4 separate regions of the Homo sapiens genome follow, and all the other regions are linked to region 1. Evidence: promoter capture Hi-C in human tissues and cell types (Jung and others, 2019). All regions are on one chromosome and are shown on one strand. The core of a region is centred on a gene start or on the middle of the fragment in contact, and the rest is flanking DNA. Distances in the headings are between cores, read along the strand shown.

The links. The method cuts DNA at HindIII sites, captures the fragments that hold promoters and counts their contacts. A contact is called where the count stands out against the background at its distance.
Region 2: a contact is called between a fragment that was not itself captured here and the fragment with the promoter of GPRIN2 in region 1, in 8 of the 25 tissues and cell types used here (H1 embryonic stem cells, hippocampus, liver and 5 more).
Region 3: a fragment that was not itself captured here is called in contact with the fragment with the promoter of GPRIN2 in region 1 in 9 of the 25 tissues and cell types used here (H1 embryonic stem cells, IMR-90 fibroblasts, aorta and 6 more).
Region 4: a contact is called between a fragment that was not itself captured here and the fragment with the promoter of GPRIN2 in region 1, in 10 of the 25 tissues and cell types used here (adrenal gland, heart left ventricle, liver and 7 more).

Annotation. Positions count from the first base shown.
Region 1 is chr10:46,555,408-46,558,282 of GRCh38, forward strand. GPRIN2 (G protein regulated inducer of neurite outgrowth 2) reads right to left here and starts at 1,251. Exons shown (of 3, transcript NM_001385282.1): 1 at 1,091-1,251. RefSeq lists enhancers at 582-1,287, 1,993-2,698. The HindIII fragment of the contact is 19,539 bases long and covers 1-2,875 here.
Region 2 is chr10:46,434,080-46,436,954 of GRCh38, forward strand. The region is part of intron 1 of LINC00842 (long intergenic non-protein coding RNA 842); the gene reads left to right. Among named protein-coding and RNA genes, the nearest start is that of NPY4R, 30 kb to the right of the region's middle. The HindIII fragment of the contact is 3,908 bases long and covers 1-2,875 here.
Region 3 is chr10:46,452,780-46,455,654 of GRCh38, forward strand. It overlaps LINC00842 (long intergenic non-protein coding RNA 842), which reads left to right. Exons shown (of 4, transcript NR_033957.2): 4 at 1-527. Among named protein-coding and RNA genes, the nearest start is that of NPY4R, 12 kb to the right of the region's middle. The HindIII fragment of the contact is 3,578 bases long and covers 1-2,875 here.
Region 4 is chr10:46,471,098-46,473,972 of GRCh38, forward strand. No RefSeq gene overlaps it. Among named protein-coding and RNA genes, the nearest start is that of NPY4R, 6.6 kb to the left of the region's middle. The HindIII fragment of the contact is 6,341 bases long and covers 1-2,875 here.

The sequences.
Region 1 (2,875 bases), core at 1-2,500:
AAACCCCCATTGCACAGTGGGGATACAGCACCCTCCAGGAGGTGGTTTAATCCACCCCAGAGTGAACGGGGCCTGATAGGAACACTCAGGGCCAACTCTGGGCAAAGCAGCAGGCAGCATTCCTAAAGGGAGGGTTTGGAGGAGACAAAACCTGCCCTTCACAATGAACGTGCCTTAAGGGCTACATGCCCCGGGTCACAAGCTGTGCCAGGAAAGGGTTCTGGGGTAACTGTGGGGTCAGTGGCCCCATGGATGAGGCTCTGCTCACCAGGAAGAGGCCTAGGCGCCCAACAGCCCCTGAGCTTCCTCCCCTGGGGAGGATTTGCCCACAATCCCTGGGGGGCACCTAGGTGGAGAGGGTGCCCCGGCCTAGAAGCAGCCTAGGCGGCCGGTGTGTCCCTATCTGCACGCTCACAAGCACTCATGCCCCAGCCTGGGACACACAGGCCCGTATGCAGTAACAGCGTCTACCCAGCTGCACTCTGCACGCCAAGCACAGGCCGCCCCTGCTGCGGGGCCAAAGGCCTGAAAGCACCGCACCACGCAGCCTCGCCCAGAATAGCTCCCCTCCCGCCCCTCCTGCACAAAGCCCACCCGGACTTAGGGAGAAGGGGGCTCAATACGGGCCCGAAACGAGGCTACAGACCTTCTCAGGAGCAAAGGCAGCGACTGCAGGCAAATGGGGCTGTGGGCCGGGGTAATGATGCGGGACAGGAGAAGCCAAAGGGCAGCAAGGCTGGGGGCGGGGTAGGCGGCGCAGTAGGCTGAGGGAGGGGAAAAGGAAGAAGGGGAGAGGGAGGAGCGATGGCAGCAGGGGTGGAGGCCGAAGGAGACAGGGTCCCGGACAGACTTGTGAAAATGGGAGGATGGGCAGAGGAGACGTAGAAGAGGGGACAGGACAGGACAATGAGAGGCGGAGCGCGGGGAGTGCGATGCGGCCACCGGGGGCTCTGGGCGCTGGGCAGGGGCCAGGATGCCGGGGGTCTGAGCGCAGGCAGCGGGAAGGAGTGGGTTCTGAGGCTCAGCAAGGGGGAGGTGCCGCCCACCACGCCCCCCGCCCCAACGGGAGCGCGCGGAGCCAGCCTCTCACCCTCTCGCCCGCCGGGGCCGCGCAGGCGGGGGAAGCGCTGCTCCTGCGGCCGCCACAGGTGCCAGGTGCCGCGGCCCAAGATGGAGCCAGAGCCGACCTGGCCTGGGCGCGAGACGCCGCCCGCCGCCGTCGGCCCGGCCCGCGGAGCAAGCGCCGGGTACAGGGAGGGGCCAGCGGGGCAGCTGGCACCGGGGCGGCGGGAGGGGCGGCGGGCGGAGACCTCGCTCACCTGGGCCCGTGCCACTCTGGAGCCTGCCACCGCCCCGCCGCGGCCCGGGATCTGCGTCCGCGCGCCCCCACCCCTCCTTCCCGACCCCTCCTCAGGCCGGGTCCCCACTGTCCTCGGTCTTTTCGGCCCCGCCCGCACCACGACCGCCTGTTCTCCAGGCTGCCCAGCGAACCCCCAAGACTCCCACTTCCCCGACGCAACCCCACCGTCCCGGGTGTATAGGCGCAGCTCCCCACGATTCTCCGGCCCCAGACCCAGCCCCTCAAGTCCACCTCCTCGTAGCCCCACCCCCTCGCTCCAGTGCCCCTCGCTCCAGTTCCCCCTCCGCACCACGCCCCGCATTGAGGTCTCCGCGCCGGCGGCTACCCCTTTCCTCTCGCCTTCTCCATCCTAGCTCCGCCTCTCACAATTCTCTGGCTCCAGATCCCGCCCACGAGACCCCGTTTCCTATAGGGCCCTTTCGTCTGGGATACCAGGCCTGGTCTCCACTAGCCTCGGACTTTCCAGCCCCAGGTCCCAAATCCTGGACCCACCGTCCCATCCTCTGAGCTCCACTCTCATGGACCCCAAACCTCACTCCAGTCCTTTGAACTCCATGATCCTGGCCTGGCCTGGCCCCCGGAGCCCTCCATTGCCCCTCAAGAGCCCAGCCTGGTAGACTCCTTCCCTAGGGTTGCATCTCCAGCCCCGCCCCTGAAGACTGGTAATCTACCACCCCTTTCCCTGCCCACGTGCCCCTACCCAGCCCGACTTGAGGCCTTCAGTCTCCCAGCCGCGGACCCCAACAGCGGGCGAGGGCAGTGACCGTGCGGGGATGAGCCACCTCCACTGGAGCCCGCCTTCTTCTCCGCAATTCCCCGCAGCACCACAGCGCCTTCCCGGTCCCGTGACGCCGGGGGCCAGCCCAGGCCCTGGGATCGCCAGGTTCCACACTATGAGGCTGAGGACCTGGGCCTACGGTTCCCTCAATATCCCCCAGTTTCCACAACCGCTGGCCAGCTTCAGGGCGCAGGACAGGCAGCCCCGGCCTCCCGCCACTCGCAATAGATTCCTGCTGTCCACCCAGGGCCACGTGGTATGAGGCACCTGTACTATCTCTGGGCCCCAGTATCACATAATTGGGTCCCAATGTTGGCACTTCTCCGTTGTCCCCTGTGCCGGGACCCCCAACTTGTTGGCCCAGCCCTGTGCTGAGAGGCCTGCGTTCCTCCCTTCCAGTGCCCAGGAGCCAACAGTATCTCTAATTCTCCCCGTTTGGGTAGCAAAGGACCTCAGTCTGCCCAGAGAGACTCAGACTGCCCCAGGTAGCCCTCTCCAGCGAGGTCTGAGAGCAGCTCTCAGATTCTGGCAGATGGCTGCCTTTGGCCAAATGCCCACAGGGGTGTCGACGTCAGACCCCAGGCTTGGGCCTCACCATCACACACTGCCTGGTAGGGGGATCCTGCTTAAAGGAGGCAAATAGGGGATTTGTTTGCCGAGGCCACTACCCACTTCTGCCCCTGTCCAGGAATTAGGACCTCTGCTTCCACATCTTAGGCATCTTACTCATATTCCCT
Region 2 (2,875 bases), core at 246-2,745, 120 kb before region 1:
CCATTATAATGAAAGTTTTGTGTTCAGTTGGAAACAATGTGGATTCTACGAATACGGTGAATTGCATTGATTGATTTATTGCGCTGTTGATTAAACTGACTTTGCATTCCTAGGATATAGAACACTACACCTAAAAATCTGTATTTAGGTAGAAGGTTCTATAGGCATCAATTAAATCAAGTTGGTTAGTAATATTGTTCAAGTGTCCTTCCCCTTTATTCATTTTTTCTACTTGTTCTATAAGTTACTGAGAAACAAGTATGACAATTTGTAAATATAAGTGTAGATTTCTCTACTTCCCCCTTCATTTCTGTCCATTTCTTTGTCATATTTTGAAGTTCTATTATTAGGTGAATATATGTTTACAATTTTTCTCTTTCTGATAAATTTATCATTATGAAATGTTCTCGTTTATTTCTTGTTCTGCATATTTCTTGTTCTGAAGTTTACTTTTTCTGATATTTAACTAGCCCCTCCAACTTTGTTATAATTGGTGCTACATGGTATATTTTTTTCCATCCTCTTACTTTTGACCTACCTGTGCCTTTAAATTATTGAGGTCTTCAGACAACATAGAGTTGAGTCTTGCCTTATTATACAGTCTAAAAATATTTGTCTTTTTATTGGAATTTTTAGACCAGTTTCATTTTATATAATTATCAGTATAGTTGGGTATAAATCTACCATTTGTCATTTGTTCTCTGTTTATTTCATCTGTTCTTCATCCTTTATTTCTCTTTTCTTGATTTCTTTTAGAGGAATTAAAAATGTTTATGGTTCTATTTTATCTCCACTGTGAGTTCATTAGCTATAACTCTGGCTTCATGTTTAGTGGTTGCATGAGGGTATACAATATGTATCATTAGCTCATTACAAATATACTATTATAACACTTTATGTACAATGTAAGACCTTACAACCATATACTTCCGTTTCCTCCATTCTGTCCATCATGCTATCATTACATATTTTGCTTTAATAGGTTATAAGCCACACAGTACATTGTTATTATTTTTGTTTAAACAATCAATTATCTTTTAAGGAAATTTAAAAATGAGAAAAGCCTTTGTATTTACCCACATACTTACCATTAAGTGTTTTTCATCCTTTGTCCACTTAGTATCACTTCACATTAGAAACACCTGGTGAGTCTTATTATATTTGTTAGTGTGAGGAAAATAATTGAAAGTATACACCGTTACCCAGCTCCTTGTCTCTTATAAGGGGTTGATTAGGAGTATCCAGTGGTGATATCTTTATTGCTAGATCATGCCATGGACTATTAGTGCTCTCTTTACAATTGGAAATAAAGTTATTAGCAACTTAAAATGTAATCAGATTAGAGACCCAATTTTGGAATAGATAGATATGATTATACTTAAATATAATATATAACTATATATAATTTTGTACATATGCATAACGTGTGTGTGTGTGTGTGTGTGTGTGTGTGTGTGTAAGGAATTGGCTCCTATGATTATTGAGGCTGACAAGTCCCAAAATCTGCAGTTAGTAAGCTGGAAACAGCAGAGCCAATGGTGTACTTCCAGTTCAAAGGCTGGCAGGCTCAAGACTCATAAAAAGCTGATACTTCAGTTCAAAAATGGCAGGAAAAAAAAAAAACCACCTCCCAGCTCAAAGCAGTCAGGCAGGATGAAATTCTCTCTTACTTGCAGGAGAGTCAGTCTGTCTGTTCTATTCCGATCTTCAATAGATTTGATGAAGCCCACCCACATTTCTTAGCCACTGGCATTTAGCAATTGGATTATGTTTTACCTTGCATAGTTTTCTTTGTGCTTATCTTGCTTTTGATCTATTGAGCATCATGGATGGGTGGTTTTGTATGTTTCATCAAATTTGGAGCATTTTTTACCATTATTCAAATATTTTTTCTCTTCCCTCTTTCCTTTCCTTCTCAGCTTCCAATTACAAGTATGTGATCCATATACTTGCATGAATATTTTCCCACAGGTTACTAAAGATTCATTTAAATTTTCTTTTTAGTCTCTTTTGACTGAATTTTAGTTTTGAAAGTTTCTATTGCAACTTTCAAGTTCACTGATCTTTTCTTCTTCACGTCTAATCTGTTCATTTCATAAAGAAATTTTTTTATTTAAGATTTTTATTTTTGGCCCTTGTATTTCCTTTTTAATTTTTCTCCTTCTTTGATGATTACTTTCATGTTTCCTTTAAATTCGTGTGTATATCTGTAATTGGTGTTTTCAATCCTTTGTGTGCTATTTCCAACATCCATCATTCCTGAGTGTGTTTCTATTGACTGGTTTTTCTCTTGGTAGGAGTTGCACTTCTGTGCATCTTTACATGTCTGTATTTCTTATATGACACCAAACATTGTTAATTATACCTTACTTAATGCTAGATTTTGTTGTCCTCCTCTAAAGATTGGTAGATATTTTTCTGGCAGCCAGCTGAGTTACTTAGAAATTACCCTGACCCTTTTGAGGTTTGTTTTGAAGCTTTGACTGAAGGAAAGGGGTTAGATTAGACTTTATTTAGGGCTTCTTTACTCCTCCTGCCAAGACATGACTTTTCTGGGATGTCAACTGAACGCACCAGATTTTCTACAAGGACGCTCCACTCTGGCTGGTAGGAATGCAGGAGTCCCCCCATGTCCCACATGAGCTCTGAAAGTGCCTGCTCACTGCTTTCCAATCACCCTTTGCCCAGCCTCCTGGAGTTTTATGATAGACATCCACAACCTAATTTTTATAACAGATCCATGGGGAACCCTGTTGTATTAATCTGTTCTCACACTGCTATAAAGAATGACCTGAGACTGGGTAATTTATGAGTTAAAGAGGTTTAGTTGACTCACAGTTCCACAGGCTGTACAGGAAGCATGGTTGGGGAAGCC
Region 3 (2,875 bases), core at 116-2,615, 100 kb before region 1:
GGTTAGGAATTCAATATATGAGTTTGGGGGGACACAGTTCAGCCCACACCACCTCCTCTGACCCTGAATTGGATGCTGTTTCTGCTCTGCTTATGATCCTCTTGTCCTCACTGGCCTCTTGGTCCAGCACCCACTGAGGCACCAGCTCTGAGAGAGCTCACTGGCTTCACACAGGTGCGACCTGATGGCGCCTCACCTCATACCCCAAACATCCTTCTCATCTCTGCAGGACCTGCTCTGTTTATGTCCAGGTATGTTCAGTGTTCCTGTGTGTCCCCAGAGTGTGGGGAGGTAATGCTCCATGTACGAACCTTTGCCAAGGGAATATGGAAACCGATGGATGAGTTCTTACCTCTTTTTTCGTCCAGACAAACTGTCCTAAGATGGTTTTAAGAGATACCGAGTAATCAGCTGCCAGCTCAGTAGCGCATCTTCAGATTGACTCTCCCTCCTTCCCTGTCTCCTTCCCCATATTCTTCATCTTGTTCCCTGGGATCTTTCTCCCTAATAAAGGAAAAGCTCATAGACCTCTGCCCCAGCTTCTGCTTTCTGGGGAATGCAGGCCAATCCAGCCACACTACTCTCCCTCCATGTAACCTGACCATGCCATCCCCCTGCTTAAAAGCTTTCAGTGCTTCTCCATTGCCCATAAAGCTCATACTTTCTAGCTATGAGCTTCAAGGCCACTTGGAGGTCATCTGGCCAACTGTCCTTCCTGCTACAACAGTCTAAGTCATAGGCTTTGGAAGATAACTGATTGGGTTTCATCTTTGGCTCTTATTGAAAATGTGGAAAAAATTATTTCACCTCTATAAGCTTCAGTTTCTTCATCTATCTGATCTCAGGATTGAGGGAAGGCAATGTATATAAAGCATCTGGCACAGTGGTTGGGGCACTAAATACATGGCAGCCAGTGTTTATTATTACAAACCAGGAAACCAGGATGCAAAGGGAGCTGCTTCAGCTCCCTTTCAGTCAGCAGACAACGGCTGTCAAACTTGGGACCAAACAGCTACAAAACCAGATGCCCGCTCTCCACAAATAAGAGGCTGAAGTGCAGCTCTCCACTGATGAACTATAACAGTTGGAAATTCACTTGTACTATGGATATTTCTTCTGCACCTCTCGTGAACAGCCTGTTCTTGCTGAGGGCTGGACAGTAAATAAAACATCTACAGTGCCTACTTCCATGGGGTTCATGTTCTAATGAGGGAGTGGAGACCCTCAACAAAGAACCAGCCAATGTGCTAAGTCCTGTGGCAGAAACTGGGCAGAAAAGGGAAGAGAGAGGGAGGATGGTTATATTTTTACAGGATGGTTAAAAAATTAGTCTTCTGTTTTTTGAGACAGGCTTTCACTCTGTTGCCCAGGCTGGTGTGCAACGGTGTGATCATGGCTCACTGCAGCCTTGACCTTCTGTGCTTAGTCAATCCTCCCACCTCAGCCTCCCAAGTAGCTCAGAATACAGGCTTGTGCCACCATGCCCAGCTGATTTTTGTAATTTTTGTAGAGAGAGATGGGGTTTCACTATGTTGTCTAGACTGGTCTCAAATTCCTGGGCTCAAGTGATCTGCCTGCTTTGGCCTCCCGAAGTGCTGGGATTACAGGCACAAACCACCATGCCCAGCCAGGAAATTAATCTTCTAATAAAGGTTCACTTAAGGTGAAGGGAGCAAGGGAGAAAGTTGATATCAAGGGGTGGCATTCCAAGCAGCAAGAGTAGGAAGTAGAAAGGCCTGAGGCGGGAAAGGTCTTAGCCTGTTCAAAAGATAGCAGAGAAGCAAGCACTGCTGAAGAGGAGTGGGTGAGGGGAAGGGTAGTGGGAAGTGAGGCCAGAGAGGGGTGGATGATCTGCAGACACAGGTGGAGACTGTGACTGTGAAATTTGCCCTGAATATGATGGAAAGCCACTGGAGGGTTGAACAAAGTTGTAGAGGCACCTGACTAGTTTCAGTGGATCACTCTGGCTGAATGAGGCCAGAAAGGAGGCCTCTGCCATGATCTCAGTAGGGAGGACAGTGGCTTGAACCTGAAGGCAGAGCCTGGAGGCAGTGAGAAGTGGTCATTCTGAGAACATTTTGAAGGCACAGCTTACAGAACTCACCGATAGATTGGATGAGGGTTGTGAATAGGAGGTGATCCCAAAGACTGTGGCCCAAGCAAATGAAAAGCAGGACTTGCCCTTTTCTGAAAAGGAGGACACTGAGGAAGGAGGTAGCAGGGACAAATCTGGAGTTTGCTTTTAAATGTGCCAAGCTTGAGATGCTGACTGGTGTCTAGGAAACACAAAGCATGCCTGGACACCCAAATCTGGAGGTCAGGGAGAAGTTCAGACTGGAGATACACTGGGGAACATTAGAGTATTTGTGGCATTTAGCACCAGAAAACTGGGTGAGCTCACCAGGGGAATGAGAGGACCTCCAGGGCTCCTTGGGGATGCTCCAGTGTCCCAAAATCAGGGCAACAAGAGTCCAAGAAAAGAGATGGGGAAGAAGAGCCCAATGAGGCAGGGAGAACCATGACCATTATGCCCTGAAAAAGCCACATGCAGGAGTCTCAAGGAGAAGGGAGTGACCAACTGCCCAATACAGCTGACGACCATATCAGACAAGACTGAGAACTGGCCACAGGATTTGGCAACATGGCAAGAGCTATATGAATGGACTGGTGAGCACATAAGAGGAGAGGAAGTGGAAGCTTCAGGATTAGACAGGGGGCCAGGCACAGTATCCCATGCCAATCCCAGCACTTTGGGAGGCCGAGACAGAAGGATCACTTGAGGCCAGGAGTTCAAGACCAGCCTGGGCAACAGAGAGAGACCTCATCTCTACAAAAAAGGAAAAAAAAAAGGAAAATCAGCCTGGACAACATAGGG
Region 4 (2,875 bases), core at 241-2,740, 84 kb before region 1:
GGGGAGGCCTCAGAAAACTTACAACCATGGCAGAGGGGGAAGCAAGGTACATCTTACATGGCGGCAGGAGAGAGGCTAGGGACTCCCAAACACTTTTAAACCATCAGATCTCGTGGAAACTTACCATCATGAGAACAGCATGAGGTAAACTGCCCCCATAATCCGATTACCTCCCACCAGGTACCTCCCTCGGCATGTGGAGATGACAATTAGAGATGAGATTTGGGTGGGGACACAGAGCCAAACCATATTAGAAGGTACTCCAGCACAACTGGTATAAAATCAAGCAAGGAGAGATGAGGTCAAAGAAATGGTTGAACAGGCCCAGGAGCCTGGGATTTTCTTTCCCTACGCAAATAGTAAACCTGCATTACTGTATTTCTAGGGGAATTACAGGGATCGATGCCATGATTAAAGACATGAAAGATGCAGGGACAGGGAGGCCTGTCACATTTCTGCCCACTTGGCTCACCTCTTTAGCTCTTTAGCCTGTGCAGGAAGTTGCTGAATCTTGGAGAATGACTGTATGTCGTCGTAAATTTAATCAGGCAGTAACTCCAATTTTAGCTGCTTTTCTAAATGCAACATAGAACAACTTAACCACTCTCAGCACTTAGTATGTAGCTATTGACTCAGCTTGTGTTTTCTCCCCATCTGTATCGGTAAGAACCAGCAGAAGTTTGCTTTCACCTGGCAAGGATAGAAGTACAAAGTCAGTGTCTTCTCCCAGATCATGTTCGTTTTCCAGCTTTCTGTTATAGTGTGGTCTACAGAGACCTTGATCTTCTGAACATCCCACAGATCCACAGATGGTATGCTGGTGCACTACACTGGTAGCACATGCTGATTGAACTGATGAGCAGGGAGAATAAACCAGATGCCTTCATAAGATGCATGCAGCACATGGGCATGGGTGGGACAGTAGCCATCATAGCCCGGGTAGTCTAAGCTAAGCACACGGGATATGTACCAGATGGCACCCATCTGGCGTGGGGGAGCCTGGCATGGCATGTCAGAGCCAGAATAGGACAAAGAGTGGCCATGCAGGGAGGCAGGGGCACGGTGGCCTAGCACAGGGTGTTAGAGTCCAAGTACTGTCAAATGAAAGTCCACATGGCAGAAGGGGACAACCAAGTGTGGATGTCAGAGCCACACAGAATGAGTGGAGGGGCAGAGTTCTGCTATGGAAGATTGGGTATATGCAGGGGGACCAACTGAGCAAAGTTGGGAGCCAGTTTTCTCACTCATGGAGAAGGCAGTCATGAATATGGAAGGAGGGAAACCCAGAATAAGCCCTGTGGTTTTGATTAGAATTGAAAGTATTGAAGTGAGCTCATGGTTTTCTATATAGAGAGATAAATATTGATCTAATAGTGTGTGTGCATATATATCCTTGCTCTGTCCACTGAGAGAGTCTAGGAGCAGTGATACCCCAATAGCAATGAACACTCCTAGCACCCATATATTGACTTCTAAATGCCATTCTCCATTAAAAGAATCCAAGTCTCCTTCGGAAAATGGCTGATTCCAGGGCAAGGGCTGGGAAAGCCCAAGATAAACCTGAAAGATCTTGGGAGCTAGAAAGTAATGAAGTACTCTAAGAATGAAGGGTGCAGGCCAGAAAAGCCCAGAACCTGGCTTGAAGGGGCCCTTGATGGCCAAATCTTCGACCATGTGAGCATCAAAGTAAATAATAATGATGATGGATAATAACCTACTGAATAAAATAAAAATCTGAGTCCATTTCAATATAACTAAATGATGGAGTAAAGTGACAGTTTGATGAGGAATGGAATATATTCATGGTTTCAGTGTGCCTCATCACAAAATATTTGTTTATTACAAAGAGAAGAGTCACCTTACAGTGGAGAAGGCTGGCAGTCACCTCTGTAATCAAATGATCATAGCGAACACCATCTCTAATCCTAGAGTGAAATTACTCACCGCATGACAGGATGCAAGGAAAACGCAGCACAGCTTCTGTGATCTTCCTGCTGAAGGTGCATGCAAGTGAATCCAACCCTGAAGAAGCATCAGCCTCAACCCAGGTGAGGGACATACTACAGAATAACTGGCCTGTCATCTGGAAACATAAGGCCATGGAAGTCAAGGAAAGAAGGGAGAACCATTCCAGATTGAAGGAGACCAGAGACAGGAGAATGAAACCTGTGTATCTTGGGACAGCTGATGAAACTTTAGTGGAGCCTGCAGATGAGGCGGTAGCAAGGTGTTCATGCAAATTGCCGGGATCATGCTTTCAAATGGCATAGAAAAATTAATGTTCTTTATCCTCACTTTCAACTTTTCTATAAGTTTAAGATGATTTAAATTATATTTTTAAAGGTGTCAAAAATTTTCTTCATCTTTATAGAATGAAACAGAAATAAAAATTGAAAGTGGTAACCTCTGGAAATAGAACTGGGGGAAAGAAGGAAAGAATATCAACGGGAGTTATCTGACCCATAGGATTTTAGGTCATTTTTTGCTTTGTTTCCTTTTCTAAATTTCTCTCTATTAAAAAAGAATGAATGATTACAACTTTATAAAGGAAAGAATCCATAAAATATATGTAATTAAATCCCATGGTACAAAGGGCAAAGAAGCTTGGCAACAACGCTTCCAGCCTCAGTTTTGTCATATGTAAAATGGAGCAAAGATGGGTTCAGGCTCATTACAAACTGGTGAGGGTTCAAATAATTAAGGGATAGGGATAGAATATCAAAGTATTTTCAAAGCCACATAGAAGGGAGGTGTGAGGGAGGGTTCCTAGGACTTCAAAGTCGGAAGCCGATAAGGGCCTGGCCTTCCCAGAAGCCTTCTAAGTAGAGATTCTGGCCAGCAGGGCTGCTGAAGTGGGCACACCTGCTGTAGGAGG